2 separate regions of the Homo sapiens genome follow, and region 2 is linked to region 1. The links are contacts of gene promoters, found by promoter capture Hi-C in human tissues and cell types (Jung and others, 2019). All regions are on one chromosome and are shown on one strand. The core of a region is centred on a gene start or on the middle of the fragment in contact, and the rest is flanking DNA. Distances in the headings are between cores, read along the strand shown.

Region 1 (2,648 bases), core at 47-2,546:
CGGCCAGAGGGTGAGGGAGCAGAGTCACACACACACACACACACGCTCACACACACACGAACACGCTCAGACCCACACCTGTGCTGAGCCCAGCGCCCCTTCTCCGTGTTCCAAGCCGAAGTTGGCTTCCCGGTGACATCCCCCAGCGGAGAGGCTGGGATGCGGGGAGCGGGGACCGTGGGGAGCGCCATTGCCTGGGGGAAGGTGGGGAGGAGAGAGCAGGGAGAGCGAAGCCCCGAGGGGAGGGCGAAGGGGAGGCAGCCCACCTGGACATGTGCTCCCTTTGGGGCCGGTGCGCTTTCTCCAGCCCCAGCTTGGTGAAGATGCCCACGAGCACCATGACGGCCACCACCCCGCAGATGATGTAGACGATCAGGTTGGTCTTGTCCTTGGTGGGGTCGTGCAAGGGGTCGTCCTTGCGGGCGGGGGGCTTGCCGGTGTTGAGCCAGAGCGGCGTGTCGTAGTTGGTGCAGGTGCTTTGGTTCAGTCGCCGCTTCTTAAACGTGCAGCAGAACCGGAAGCCACAAGTCCCGCAGCAGAAGATGAAGTCGCCCGAGCTGCAGTTGAACGGCGGGTCCCACTGGCCCATGACATCGAAGTAGCCCCGGCAGAAGTCCGGCGTGGGCGCCCGGGTCGGGGGCGCGTCCGATGCCTCAGCGCCCTCGCTGGCCTCTCCGGAGGCGGCCCCGGAGCGGTTGCCCCCCGCCAGCAGCAACACGCCGCCCAGTTGCGCCAGCTGCCCGTGTCCCGCTCGCTCCTGCGCCCGGCACACGCGGGCGCACAGCTCGGTGAGGAAGCAACCGAGGAGCAGCCGAAGGACGCGGCGCATGGTGTCTCCCAGCCCGGGCTCGGCCGCTCGGCCGCCGCTGGAGCCTCTGCGGCCGCCTCTCGAGGCGCGGCCGAAGCTGCCGAGGCTGCTGCCGGGAGCTGCGAGCCGCCGCGGGCCGCACATGCAGGGAGCGGCGCGGGGCGCTCGGTGGTCGGCGGCCACTGCGCTCGGCTCAGCCCGCGTTCGCCTCAGCCCGCGTTCGCCTCCAGCGCGCCGCGCGCCGAGGGGCCGGCCGGGGAGGAGCGCGCCCGGCCGGGCGGGGGGAGGATGAGCGGGGTCAAGCGCGGGGTGCAGGTCCGGCCGGCCACTGGGTGAGGCGGGGGTGGAGAGCAGAGGAGAATCGGGCTGGCAGCGCCTAGCCTTGGCCGGCAGCCCCGGACTGGCCGCCCCTAGCCCTCTCGCAGTATCCCTCTCACCTCACCAGCTCGCCAAGTGCGCTGAAGAGAGCGAAGCGACACTTGTGGAATGAAGGGAGGGCAGGAGGGAAGGGGGAGGGGGAGGAGGGCGGGCAGAGGAGGCGCGGGTGGGGGGGGGCGGGCGCGAGCTCTAGAGGGGCGGGGGCGCGGGGAAGAGGTGACTAGAGCGGGAGCTAGCTGGGGGGCGTGCAGAGCTGAGCCAGGCGAGCGGACGGGGAGGAGCGAGCTCGGCAGCAGCCGAGGCTAGAGGAGCCGCTCGGATTTCCAGGCAGGTGGAAAACCGCGGCAGGACCTCCCGCGCCCTCTCTGGGTAGGAGGCGCGGCTCAGCCCTGTCCAGAGCGCAGAGGCGGCTCAGCTCGTAGCTTTTTCACCGGTGCGTGTGCAGGAGCGGCGGCCGAAATCTGTGCATCAGGGGAAGGATGACTCGGAGAGGATGGGGACAGACTAAATGGCTTTCACTCCAAGACAGACTGGGTGCAGTCTGGTCAGGATCGCCCCTCCCAGGCGTGCGGGGCCTCCTTGCCCTTCCCGGCTGCGCCCTCCAGCCCTGAGCGCAACCCGCATGGCTCAACTCTCTGGGCCCAAGCAAGGACCCAGGCGGAGCTGGGAAGGACAGGTGGCAAGCCCCTGAGCCAGGGATAAGCACCCTCCGGGGGAGAGGGGCTCGGGATGAACGAATCAAAGAAGGTCGGGGGTAAGAGGGGACAGCCGAACAAGGCCGAGGCTATGGCGTGTCCTGGAAGGTCTTTCCTTGGAAGTCCCCCAGCCTCTCGAACCTGCCGCTTTCTGTCCCTCTTCGCCCCCGCAGCGTTTTCTGCGCTCCACAGGAGGGAACACCGCGGCGCCGCCTCTGCGCTCCCGGATCTGGCGCAGCGCAAGGCCTGGGCACCCAGCCTCAGCCACCCTCCCGGACCTGGAGCCCGCGCATCGGTCTCTGGAGCTGGCTGGCCCCTGTCCCCACGGATCCCCCCGGAAATCCTCACCGGGGGCTGCAGAGCTCTGCCTTGCTTCCTCAGCTTCCAGCCTCCCGTCTCCTCTGTGTTTCCAAATCTGCCCTCTCTCTCCTAGCGAATTCCAGCTCCCCGGAGGCCCTCTCTCATTTCTCCCACCTCTTTCTCTCCTCTGCTTGAATTTGACTCCAGTAGCCCCAAAACAGGATTTGCACCAAAGCTGCTACACCAAATTTAGATCTCCCCACGCCCCGGCGTTTTGTTTTTTAATTGCATTAACTAAGTATACACTTTGCAGGCTGCTAGGCGATTTGCAAGGAGATAATGTTTCCACAACCCTCCTCTCCACTTGGCTGCAGTCAAGGGCTTCTCAGGGCATCTTCAGAGAACGAAAAGTTGGGCGACATGTAAAATGGTTTACTAGGGTCCCCTGAATTGAGAAAGGGTGGGAG
Region 2 (2,648 bases), core at 57-2,556, 1.1 Mb before region 1:
TCCAAATCACTTGCGTATGTTGAATTTGTTTGCCAAAAGATGGCAGCAGGAAAATGCTGGCCTCACCGAGACTGAAGGGAAAATGAAAGAAATAATTAATTCCTTTTGGATGAAGTCAGCAGTCAAAATGAAAGACCTTTCCCGCAAGGTTAGCAGTCAGAAGTAGATATTCCAGAATATCTACAGCAAGAGGAAGGAAAAGCCTCCTTTCCCATCATTAAGGGCATTTATCTGAAATAGAGAGAGATCATGTACTTTTCAGAAGATCATAAGCAAGTCCATGCATGGATACACGTTCATATTTTCCCACTTGAAGTTATTTACATTAAAAAAAAAAATCCGGGCCACTCCACCCTCATGGCTGCCTGCTCTTCGATTAACCTGGCTTGCCGAAAGACTTTGTTCTTTCTTTTGTGCCATCTAAGCACACACGTATTCATTTCTCCCTAAATTAATTTGCTCCCTGGTGTGCTGGTTTCCAAGCTTTAAGTCATTTCACGTGTGTGTGTTTTGTGGCCACAGCCCAATGGCACAGCTCTTGCATGCTGTCATGCTGTTGGCTTGACTCAACTTGAATTTGCTGAAACCTGAAGGCAAAAACAGCCTTCTCCTGTCCTGTGGCCGCCTGGGGTGGGGTACCTTGAAGGTGCTTCTTTTTCCTTTGCTACTAGGTTGGTGTAAAAGTAACTGCGGACAGGGCACGGTGGCACATGCCTGTAATGCCAGTGCTTTGGGAGGCTGAAGTGGGTGGATCACCTGAGGTCAGGAGTTCGAGACCAGACTGACCAACATGGCAAAACCCCGTCTCTACTAGAAATACAAAATTAGTCAGGTGTGGTGGCACATGCCTGTAATCCCAGCTACTCAGGAGGCTGAGGCAGGGGAATCACTTGAACCTGGAAGGCGGAGGTTGCAGTGAGCCAATGTTACGCCATTGCACTCCGGTGTGGGCAACAAGAGGGAAACTCTATCTCAAAAAAAAAAAAAAAAAAAAAAGGAATTGAGGTTTTTGCCATTGAAAATAATGGCAATAACTGCAATTACTTTTAAAAAATGTTTTATTTATTTTTTGATTTTCATTTTTTTTGAGACGAGTCTTGCTCTGTTACCCAGGCTGGAGTGCAGTGGTGCGATCTCGGATCACTGCAACCTCCTCCTCCTGGGTTCAAATGATTTTCCTGCCTCAGCCTCCCAGGTAGCTGGGATTACAGGCACTGGCCACCATGCCCGGCTAATTTCTGTATTTTTAGTAGAGATGGGTTTCACCATGTTGGCCAGGCTGGTCTCAAACTCCTGACCTCAAGTGATCCACCCACCTCGCCTCCCGAAGTGCTGGGATTACAGACGTGAGCCACCGCTCCTGGCATAATAACCACAATTACTTTTGCACCAATCTAATACCCAACAGCTCCCCCACCCTCCTCCAAATTTGTCACAACCTGGGTTTCACCTATCCCGACTGCCTTCATTCCCTTTTACCTAGTGAAATACGGAGTTGAGTAAAAATAAATGTTACCTACTAACACACACTCTGGGAGTCTGAGATCAGCATTGGATGCTGTGACCTCATGATCCCTTCAGGCAGGTACTCTGTGTGTGTTTGCACCCAAATACAAGCAATAGATCGGTATGGATGGGGAAGGGAGGAGGTAACACTGAACTTCATGATAAATCATAATAATAATTAACCACCACGCAGGATGACCAGTGCTCTCTTCATTGTTGCGTCAAAGGCCACCAGGCTATCTACGCTGATACTGCTCAGCTCCTGGTGTTGTGGGTCACTCCCTATAAATTCCCTCCTGTTTCATTCTGGCTGCTGGATGACTCAGTTTCTTCTTCTAATATTCTGTCTGTATCTTCCCTTCTTCTAAGTGTAGGCATTTTTAGCATTCTGTTAGTCGTTTACGGTTTCTTTACCTTAACCACTTACTTATTCAACCAATGTCTTCAGTTCTCATTTCAATGCAGGTGCCTACTACATCTTTTTTTTTCCTGCTAAACTATGTTTCTTCTAAAAAATATTTGAAGTATAATTTATATACAATACACTGCACATATTGAGTGTATGCTTTTATGATTTTGACATCTATACATTGCAAAACCATCACCGCTAAAATTACAAACATTTCTATCAATTCCAAATGAGTTTCTTTGTGAGCACAGCCAATTTTTATCCTTACTCTGGAAGCTCTATTGGTTTCGAAGGGATGTGACCTGATGCAGAAGCCCAGGGCTTAACATGGGGTCACTGATAATATTCAAGAAATCAACAGAACTCTACTCAAAAATCTACCTCTTTCTCAGGGGGAAAATTCCCAACAAGACTTGGGACTTCAAGTCTGACTCATGCTGTGTCCTGGGGCGCAGACTCGGGCTCTGATAAGAGGAAGTCAATCTGTCCTCTATTTGTTTATAATGAGTCATGCTCGAAGTCAGGCATCTAGTTTTTGTCTCTCCTCTGTCATGGTTAGGCAAGAATTGGAGGAAGATACACCCCAATTCGGAGTGCAGTGATCCTTAAAGTGTCCGAGGGCTCCAGTGTAGTTCAGGACGTGGGACTTAATGGGGACCCCTACCAATGGAGGCCGGGAGCACCAAGTCTTGGAGTTGAGGTCTACCTTCCTCCCACATCTCCAGGGCAGATG

The links. The method cuts DNA at HindIII sites, captures the fragments that hold promoters and counts their contacts. A contact is called where the count stands out against the background at its distance.
Region 2: a fragment that was not itself captured here is called in contact with the fragment with the promoter of SHISA9 in region 1 in 1 of the 25 tissues and cell types used here (lymphoblastoid cells).

Annotation. Positions count from the first base shown.
Region 1 is chr16:12,900,246-12,902,893 of GRCh38, reverse strand. It overlaps SHISA9 (shisa family member 9), which reads right to left and starts at 1,296. Exons shown (of 5, transcript NM_001145204.3): 1 at 267-1,296. The coding sequence starts at 829. The HindIII fragment of the contact is 6,671 bases long and covers 1-2,648 here.
Region 2 is chr16:13,957,718-13,960,365 of GRCh38, reverse strand. No RefSeq gene overlaps it. Among named protein-coding and RNA genes, the nearest start is that of ERCC4, 39 kb to the right of the region's middle. RefSeq lists enhancers at 2,557-2,648, 2,490-2,648. The HindIII fragment of the contact is 3,355 bases long and covers 1-2,648 here.